Regions from separate parts of the Homo sapiens genome. Here region 1 is linked to region 2. Evidence: promoter capture Hi-C in 16 types of primary human blood cells and fetal thymus (Javierre and others, 2016). All regions are on one chromosome and are shown on one strand. The core of a region is centred on a gene start or on the middle of the fragment in contact, and the rest is flanking DNA. Distances in the headings are between cores, read along the strand shown. Region 1 overlaps SKAP1 (src kinase associated phosphoprotein 1). Region 2 holds the start of HOXB-AS1 (HOXB cluster antisense RNA 1).

Region 1 (4,741 bases), core at 378-2,877, 260 kb after region 2:
AGCTCTGTATCATAGTCTACTCTAATCACTTTTCTCTGCATTCTCTCATCAGTTATGCTGGGTGGCAGGGGGAAGCTTGTTTGTCTTGACTCACAGCAGGAGTCTCTTGATATTACCTATATTTTACAAATGCCCAACACGTCTAAGCCACAACTTCATTGGTGTTTCTGTATTCAGGTAATTATTAAATTATATTCTGTCTCTGAAATAAGAGTTTGACTCTCCCAAACATCTTCTTAACTAGAAAATGCACTAGTTTGTGACTATTTTAGAGATCTCAAAGTACTTGCTTTTTTTAGCCAAACTGAGAAAATAATTACATGGAATTACATAATTGCTAAGAGTGGATGGCATTTTGTAGTTATTGTTCCCTCAGATGGGTGGGTTTGCATTTATCAGAGGAGCACAAAAATGTGCAATTTTCCTTACCAAAAAAAAAGGGCAGTTTCTTTTTTTCTTTTCTTTCTTTTTTTTTTGAGACCAGATCTTGCTCTGTCACTGAGGCAGCAGCAGTGCAGCGAGACGACCTTGGCTCACTGCAACCTTGACCTCCTAGGCTCAAGCAATCCTCTCACCTCAGCCTACTAAGTAGCTGAGACTACAGGCGTACACCACAATGCTTGGCTGACTTTTTACTTTTTCGTAGAGCTGAGGTCCCACTATGTTGCCCAGGCTGGTCTTGAACTCTTGGGCTCAAGCAATCCTCCTGCCTTGGCCTCCCAAAGTGCTGAGATTACAGGCATGAGTCACCTTGCCCAGCCAAAAGCAGTTTCTTAGTTTTGATAGTTATACTGTGGTTATGCAATATGTTAGCTTTGAGGGAACAGGGTGAAGGATAGATGAGAACTCTGTACTATTTTTGCAACTTTTCTGAAAACTTAAAATTATTTCAAAGTACAAAGTTAAAAAAAATAAGGCATTAGTTTGGGTAGAGGTGAGGAATGAATGGAGGAAAATAGAGGAAACAGAATTGGCCATGAGTTGATAATTGTTGAAGCTGGATGATAGCTACAGGAGGTTCATTACATTATTTTCTATACATTTGTACATGTTTAAACTTTTTATAATTTCTTAATCTAATAAAATGAAACAGAAAGGCATAAAAGAAAGTATTAAGTGCAGTTCAACTTTGGGTAAACATAAGAATTTTCCAAATGATATTGTTAGCTGAGACAAACTTATATTATTTTGGGATTTCTGTTTTCTTTACCATTCTTATCGGTGCATGAAGAATCAAGTAAATGCTTGTGTGATTTTTTTAACTGTAGAATATGTACTCTTAGTTACACTTAGCTGTTGTTCTTCAGGTTTTCCTTATTGCTGCAGTACTAAAAATATATGCATTAGATAAACTAGGATTTTTAAAAAGTTGTCTTGCCTGTCCATAAACTAGTAAATATTAATATTTATTTTTTGTCTGTTTTTGTTTTATTGTTTTTCTAAACAATATGAGTATGAGGGCATGCCTAATGGCATATATTTTCTCATTGATTTTATAATAAACTTATACTGTTCCAAAGATAATAAATTATACTAGATCAACACTTATGGGTAAGAGAAGTTTTCAGTGCCATGTTAAAACTTAAGCCATGGATCACTAGATGGTGGCCACAGTGTTAATTTCTTATTTTCTAAACCTCTCCTTTTAAAGATACCTAAATTAGATTTTCCTTACAAGTAAATTCCCTTAATTTGTTTGGAAATATAAAGGTTTTTCTTTAAAGCACAATTTGAAAGCACGCTGCCTCTGCCTGCCAGCCTAAATGAGCAGCATTTGATGTGCGATCAGGCAGTCTCCACTTGGAGAGCATCACAGGCACTAGGAGCAGTGAGAAGAACCCCATCAGGGAGTGCCATGACAATGACAAAGAGCTTCATGGTTTCTTATTGGGCACCAGTAGACTGAAGTGCTTTAAAACTTGAGCTCTGGGCCAGGTGCAGTGACTCACGCCTGTAATTCTAGCACTTTGAGAGGCCGAGGTGGGTGGATCACGAGGTCAGGAGATCAAGACCATCCTGGCCAACATGGTGAAAACCCATCTCTACTAAAATACAAAAAATTAGCCGGGCATGGTGGCATGTGCCTGTAATCCCAGCTACTTGGGAGGCTGAGGCAGGGGTATCGCTTGAACTCAGGAGGCAGAGATTGCAGTGAGCCAAGATCACGCCACTGCACTCCAGCCTGGCAACAGAACAAGACTCCATCTCAAAAAATAAAAAATAAATAAAAATAAAAAAGTAAAAAAACCTGAGCTCTGGGTTTAGACTGCCTAAGTCTGAGTACAGGTTCTGCCTTGAGTGTTTATAACAGCTTTATTCACTGAAACTGAAAAGAACCCAAGTATCCATCAACTGGTGAGTAGATAAACAAATTGTGTTTCTATTCAGCAATAAAAAGGGATAAACTACTGATACACACAACTACATGGATGAATCTTAAAGGTTTTATGCTAATTAAAGAAAGCCAGACATAAAATATTAGATACTATATGATTTCATGTATTTGACATCCCTAAAAAGTCAAAGCTATAGACACAAAAATAGATCAATGATTGGCAAGGCCAGTGATAGAAAGAGTGGATTGACTACAAAGGGGCAAAAAGGAGCTTTTCAGAGTGATGGAAATATTCTATATCTTGATTTGGTAGTGGTTATACAACTACTATATATATATGTATATATTTGTCAAAATTCATTAAACTGTACATTTAAAAAGAATTGTGTTTTTTGTGTGTCATTTTTTGTTGTTGTTTTTTGTTTGTTTTTGAGACAGAGTCTCACTCTGTCACCCAGGCTGGAGTGCAGCCTGTCATCCAGGCTGGAGTGCAGATCTCGGCTCACTGCAACCTCTGCCTCCCAGGTTCAAGTGATTCTCCTGCCTCAGCCTCCCAAGTAGCTGGAATTACAGGCGCCCACCACCACAGCCAGCTGATTTTTGTATTTTTAGTAGAGACGGCGTTTCACCATGTTGTACCATGCTGGTCTCAAACTCCTGACCTCAGGTGAATCCTCCCACCTCTGCCTCCCAAAATGCTGAGATTCCAGGCATGAGCCATAGCGCCTGGCCAAGAATTGTATTTTATGTAAATTATATCTCAATAAAGTATTTAAAACCAAACATACAAAATATGTTTTCCAGAACTCTTTTTGATTTGTCTAGTTTCCATAAACAAGCTTATTATTATTGCTTTAGATCATTTTTCTTTCTAGAACCAAGCAATATATGAGTTCTTTCCATGAGAAATAAGTATATTTTCTTCTCTGTCTGCTCTCTTCTGATAAAACTGTATGACAACAGGGCCCCAGGGAATGAAGATAGCAAAGGGACCTTGGGTTAAATGCTGGCCTTAGGAGACAAGCTCTTAGAAGGAACTGTGAGCACAGGAAAGAAGGATTTAGGGAAAATGGAAGCTGGCCCAGGCTACGAAGAGAGAAAGACCCAAGAACAGAGTGTTGGTGGGCCATAGGAATGGAGGAGATGGATGAGATGACCCCGTTGGGGAAAGGGAAGCTAAGAGAGTGGAATGAAATATACTTCTTTAGGTAACACAGCCCTCGAATTAACATGTTTACACATTCATGACACCCAAGTGGCTTCAATTTCTCGGCAGTGGAATTTATCACATAATTAGGCTTTTAGAAAAAAATTCATTTTTTTCCATTAAAAAACCTGACAAATGGTCCACATGTATCATTTGGACACAGGTCACATTACCCAGATAATGAACTCTTTCATGTAAAATTTCCAGTAGATTTTTAACATGCAAAGTCCTCCTCATATGTTATCCTGCATTGATCCGATTGGAGCTGTTAGTGTCTAGTGGATCAATGATCAGCAAACTAAAAAGTCACTTAGTGACTATGACACCCATGGCAGTGTTAGAATCTATTGTGTCAGGAATCCTTGTTTTATTAACTCTGTAATTACCTGTTCAGCTGAACCGGTGAATTTTATTACACATTTTCTTTCACCTGAACAAGACCTTTGCACTTCTACCAGCGCCCTGAGGATCTTCTCTTTTTTTTTCTGCTCCATGTCTTTCTCCAGTGCTCTTTGGCTTAGCTGCCATCTATTTTGGCAGAGAAGTGTGTGGGAAGGAGGCCTTAAGAATACCGTCACCTTGCTTTGGAAGCTGTTAAGTGGCCTCATCCTCCAGGATAGTTGCTTCAGTTGAGACACATTTAGTACTCAGAAGTCAGGAGTATAACTCGGCTTGCAATATATTGGTGTTTTCCTTAAACAAAGAATCATATGCTGTATGGCCTGGGAGTTAACAACATGGACTTTGGAGGCAGGTCTGGGAAGCAATTAGTAAGTTATGTAAGCTCCCTCAGCCCAGGTTTCCTGGTGTGTAAGAGGGGAGGATAGGAATAGTTCCCTCCTCATAGTAACACATGGATGTCTTTCCAGTACCTGACTCAATATGTCTGAAACTTTGTTTTCTCCCCCCTAAAATCTGTACCTTTTCTTCTTTCTCTTGGTAAATGGTGCTCTCATCTTTGACTTCCTGTCTCTCTTACCCCAGCCCAGTATCCAGCCACTCACCAGATGCTATCAATTCTTCATCGTAAGTATTTCTCCGATACTTCTGTTACTCTCCATCCCTGCCATCTCCACCAAGCCATTACAGATTCTCATCTGGACTATTAATCATTCAACTTGACTTCCCAAAATTCACTCTTGGCCATTCTTCAAAGACTTTTGCTATCCTTAGCATTAGGTTCAACATAATTAACACAT
Region 2 (4,971 bases), core at 138-2,637:
ACAGCGATGGAGGCCAGAGGCCCAAAAATGCCCCTTATGCTCCATCTCACTCCTATGTGTCTGCCTGGGAGTTCCTGTCCATTTCCCAAGATTTAACTGTTGTTTTTGGAGGGTAACAGGGATAGTGGTGTGATGATTGTAAATCTCTTTCTTATTTTCACCTTAATACTGACCTTTTTCAAAGAGTGGAAGCCTCTTTCGACTCCCTCTTCCTCCAACGCGGAGATCCTCACTCATCTTTTCCTGGGGAAGGGGAGAAGGGAAGGGGATGCTGCTGGCCACGTAAAGAAGGCCTTAATTTACTCTATTAAAATACTTGGAAAAGAGGAAGGTTTCTCCCTTAGAGTCTCTTCTTTTCCAGGCTTCTGAAACCTTCTAACCTTCGAAGGGGATGAGGAAAAGGTTCCTCTAGCTTTTCTGGAGAAACGGAGGCATTGGGGAGAGAGCATGTGAGGCACTGGTGTAGGAATGGGGGCTCATGGTGTCCTGGTCGTGGTCCTCTGGTGTTTTTGAATCAATTAAACCAAATAATGCTCTCTGTTTTCCACCAGGCCCAGACGAGCGATTGGCGGAGGCCGGTCCCGTGACCACGAATTCCCTGTAATTTCGCTGGAGTCCTGGGTTTAATAGAGAGAGTCCCCATACGCTTGTATTTATCAGCAATATACAATTATAAAGGCCCAAAATTAAAAAAAAGAGAGACCGAAATCTCCCCCTCCCAAAATCGCTCCATTACATAAATCGGGGGGGGTGCAGGAGGGGGGTCCCTTCCGATCCTCCCTCCTGACGCCCCCCCCAGCAGCCCCCTCCCCCACCATTGAAAGCCATGAATTTTGAATTTGAGAGGGAGATTGGGTTTATAAACAGCCAGCCGTCGCTCGCCGAGTGTCTGACTTCCTTCCCCGCTGTCTTGGAGACATTTCAAACTTCATCAATCAAGGAGTCGACATTAATTCCTCCTCCTCCTCCTTTCGAGCAAACCTTCCCCAGCCTCCAGCCCGGCGCCTCCACCCTTCAGAGACCCAGGAGCCAAAAGCGAGCCGAAGATGGGCCTGCTCTGCCGCCGCCACCGCCGCCGCCACTCCCCGCTGCCCCCCCGGCCCCCGAGTTCCCTTGGATGAAAGAGAAGAAATCCGCCAAGAAACCCAGCCAATCCGCCACGTCTCCTTCTCCGGCCGCCTCCGCCGTTCCGGCCTCCGGGGTCGGATCGCCTGCAGGTCGGTAAGCGTGGTGGGGGTGGGGTGAGGGGCAGCTAGAAGAGGGGGAGAAAAAGCAGTGGAAGGAGGTTTAAAAAAAATGGTGGCGAGCCTGTTGGGGTTCCTTACCCCCTCCATTCCTGGGATGGGGAAGTAGAATATCCCACTGGGGTTCAGGCCTGGCCGCTAACAGCGTCTTTTTTTTTTTCTGTCTCTCTCTCTCTTTCTCTCCCTATGGCTGATTTTGGAAGCTGGTTGGGGAAACGCCTTTTTTTCTGCTAGAAGAAAATGATTTGATTGAGGTTTTCACCCGTATCTGTGTAGGGGAATGAGTATGTTGTTGCTGGGATAGACCCTAGAAGCAGAAAAGATTCGGTCCTTTCTGCCCCAACTCTAGGAGAAGAGGAAGAATTCAGAGCTAGGGAGGAAGAGGGGTGAAGAACAATCTTTCTGACCCTCGCTCCGGTTGAGTTGGAAAGTTCCGAATTGAGGGGTCCACTGGGAGGGCTTGGGAGGGGGATCTGAGGTTCCGGCGCCGAAGGGAGCCGCTCTCCGCCCCCTGCGTGGCCCGTGGGCGGCTCTGAATGCTTTGCCCTGACCCGGGCCGGGGCTGTAGACTAGAGAGGGAGAGAAGAAAACCCAAAAGCAGTAAAGCGAGCGGCTTTGGGGTGGGGGCGGGGGTGGGGTGGCGAGGAAGGGGAGAGGTGATACTGGTTTTGGAGGATGGGGTAGTCCGAACTGAGGTTGGGCTGAGTACACGGCCCGCTATGACGCCGAGCCTGTTTTCCCTGCAGATGGCCTGGGACTGCCGGAGGCTGGTGGCGGCGGGGCGCGCAGGCTGCGCACGGCTTACACCAACACGCAGCTGCTGGAACTGGAGAAGGAATTCCACTTTAATAAGTACCTGTGCCGGCCACGCCGCGTCGAGATCGCGGCCTTGCTGGACCTCACCGAAAGGCAGGTCAAAGTCTGGTTTCAGAACCGGCGCATGAAGCACAAGCGGCAGACGCAGCACCGAGAGCCGCCGGATGGGGAGCCTGCCTGCCCGGGAGCCCTGGAGGACATCTGCGACCCTGCCGAGGAACCCGCGGCCAGCCCGGGCGGCCCCTCCGCCTCGCGGGCGGCGTGGGAAGCCTGCTGTCACCCGCCGGAGGTGGTGCCGGGGGCCTTAAGCGCGGACCCCCGGCCTTTAGCCGTTCGCTTAGAGGGCGCAGGCGCGTCGAGTCCCGGCTGCGCGCTGCGCGGGGCCGGCGGGCTGGAGCCCGGGCCATTGCCAGAAGACGTCTTCTCGGGGCGCCAGGATTCACCTTTCCTTCCCGACCTCAACTTCTTCGCGGCCGACTCCTGTCTCCAGCTATCCGGAGGCCTCTCCCCTAGCCTACAGGGTTCTCTCGACAGCCCGGTCCCTTTTTCCGAGGAAGAGCTGGATTTTTTCACCAGTACGCTCTGTGCCATCGACCTGCAGTTTCCCTAACCTGTTTCCTCCTCCCGGTCCTTTCGACCCCCGCGCTCCTTGGCCGTCTACTGGAAAAATCGAGCCTCTCCCACCCTCAGTCGCATAGACTTATGTGTTTTGCTAAAATTCAGGTATTACTGAATTAGCGTTTAATCCACTCCCTTTCTTCTTCTTCTAAAATATTGGGCACTCGGTTATCTTTTAAAATTCACACAGAAAAATTCCGTTTGGTAGACTCCTTCCAATGAAATCTCAGGAATAATTAAACTCTAGGGGGACTTTCTTAAAAATAACTAGAGGGACCTATTTTCCTCTTTTTTATGTTTTAGACTGTAGATTATTTATTAAAATTCTTTAATAATAGGAAAAGGGGAAAGTATTTATTGTACATTATTTTCATAGATTAAATAAATGTCTTTATAATACCAAAACGAGTGTTTGTGTTGGGACCTAAACTCTTTCCCCGCGGCCCCAAGGCCGGTCCTCACCCCTCCAGGACCTGTGCGAAGTTGATTAGGTTCAGCGGCCCATATGGCAGCAAAGCCTCCAGGGCCGGCGAAGTCCGGGTGGTACAAAGGTGACCCGATTGATGGCCGCTTCGCCCACGGCTCCGGCAAAAGTCGGGAGTTTGCAGGAAGCTGGGTCACCTCCCCGCCCCTCAGCAGAGGGTCTTTGGTCCTGAGCGGGTGGTTCTGGGGCCTCTGCTTGGAAATAGAGATGGGCAGGTCGAGGGAGAGAGTGTACAGCGAACAGAGGAGGGTGAAAGGAGAGGAAGCCTGTGGACAGTCTTCAGGGTCGTGGCGGGGGCAGAAGTTTACTGGAATTGGGAACAATCCAAGGGCTTCCTAGGCTTTTGCTTCTTATGACCGAAGCCGGTGTAGGACCTTTTTCCGAACTCAAGAAGCCTAGGGACGCGAGGCCTGGGGCTTGAGCCGGGCCTCTTTGGGAGCTGTAGGTGGCTCTCCAAGGAGTGGAGTGGGGTCGGGGATTTTCTCGGGAAGCAGGGTCCCGCACCCAGGGATGGTAACTGGCTTCCCAGTGGGCAAGAAAAGAGGCCAGCTGAGAAATGTGGCGCTGCCGGGACACCCATGGACTCGGGCTGCTGGGGTTTGGGAGACCATCCAAGCAGCAGCCGGGCGAGAAGCCCAGGGTGGCCCGGCAGCGTCGCGAGGCGCTGGACCTGCGGGGAGAGAAGGAGGAGCGAGGAGAGCGGGAGGGAGACAGGGAAGCAAAGACGATGCTCAAAATGGCGCTGGGGCCGGGCGGCGGGCCGGGGGGGGGGCGAGGGAAGAAGCTGTGGCCGCCATGACAGCCGCTGCAGGAGGCGCCGGCCCAGCCGGGATCTGCCCCCGCCCCTGCGTCCTCCCAGCTGGATTTTCCAGAGGCCAGGGAAGAAGGGGAGCCTGGGGGGTCCCACCTTCGTTTTAGTTAGTTTGATTTTTTTATTTTTAAAGTGGAGCCCAACGGACGCTGAGGACGCGAGATGGAAGGAGAGTCCGGGTGGATGTGGGAAGGGAAGGAGAGCGGCGGGTCTGCGGGCCTGGGTGTGCCTCATCCAGTCTGACTTTTGATTCTTCGCTGTGGGATTTGAAGCCAGGCCAGAGCTTTCTCTGAATGCAGACCCACCAGTCTTGACCAACAACTTCATTTCACGTATCAACACCATGTCCTGTCTATCCCCCACCACACCCTGCCTGGTTCCTTGTAAACCTGGTAAGCGGGAAGCAAGGATCGATCTCCCCCATCTGCCTCCTGGTTTGTTCTGGGAAGGTGGAGGTTTAAAGGTCCCCGGAAAGCCATCCATCCTCCTTAGGTTTCTTTAATATTTCTCCCGCTCAGAAACAGACACTACGGGGCTATCTCCCCGGCAGATGCTGCCCTTCTCAAAAAGCAGTTTATTTCCTGGGCCTCCAGACTTTCCCCTGGACCAACAGGACCGGGATTTAGAGTACCAGTCACCCAGAGGCAGCAATTGTCAGGATAAGCCAGGAGCCAACATAGGTTGTGACACAGAGGACTAGACAGGCCCTTTGCATATTTTAAAATGGGTCCCTCAGTGTGGGAAGTACACACCTCTTAGTTAGCTGGAACTTAATCCCTTAAACTGTCTTAATATAGAATTCATCTCGTGCATTAATCTTACATCATGTTAAATTGCACTTATTTCTCTCATAAATAAATATAGAACAATTAGATGTGTTATAATAATGTCATGTATCTTATTTTCCCTCATAAAATATATAGGTATGAAATAAATTCAATATATTAAAGTAGTAATACACAGCTTATTGGCTTATGTGTTTATTTTCCCCATAAATA

Evidence for each region. The method cuts DNA at HindIII sites, captures the fragments that hold promoters and counts their contacts. A CHiCAGO score of 5 or more calls a contact.
Region 1: a fragment that was not itself captured here is called in contact with the fragment with the promoter of HOXB-AS1 in region 2 in 1 of 17 cell types (total B cells); the score reaches 5.2 in total B cells.

What each region holds. Positions count from the first base shown.
Region 1 is chr17:48,278,512-48,283,252 of GRCh38, reverse strand. The region is part of intron 4 of SKAP1 (src kinase associated phosphoprotein 1); the gene reads left to right. Among named protein-coding and RNA genes, the nearest start is that of SKAP1-AS2, 13 kb to the left of the region's middle. The HindIII fragment of the contact is 3,099 bases long and covers 78-3,176 here.
Region 2 is chr17:48,540,767-48,545,737 of GRCh38, reverse strand. It overlaps HOXB-AS1 (HOXB cluster antisense RNA 1), which reads right to left and starts at 1,387. Exons shown (of 7, transcript NR_102279.1): 1 at 1,326-1,387; 2 at 381-617; 3 at 174-243. It overlaps HOXB2 (homeobox B2), which reads left to right and starts at 629. Exons shown (of 2, transcript NM_002145.4): 1 at 629-1,217; 2 at 1,991-3,083. The coding sequence starts at 827. The coding sequence ends at 2,670. RefSeq lists an enhancer at 1,761-2,406 and a silencer at 2,214-2,503. The HindIII fragment of the contact is 10,206 bases long and covers 1-4,971 here.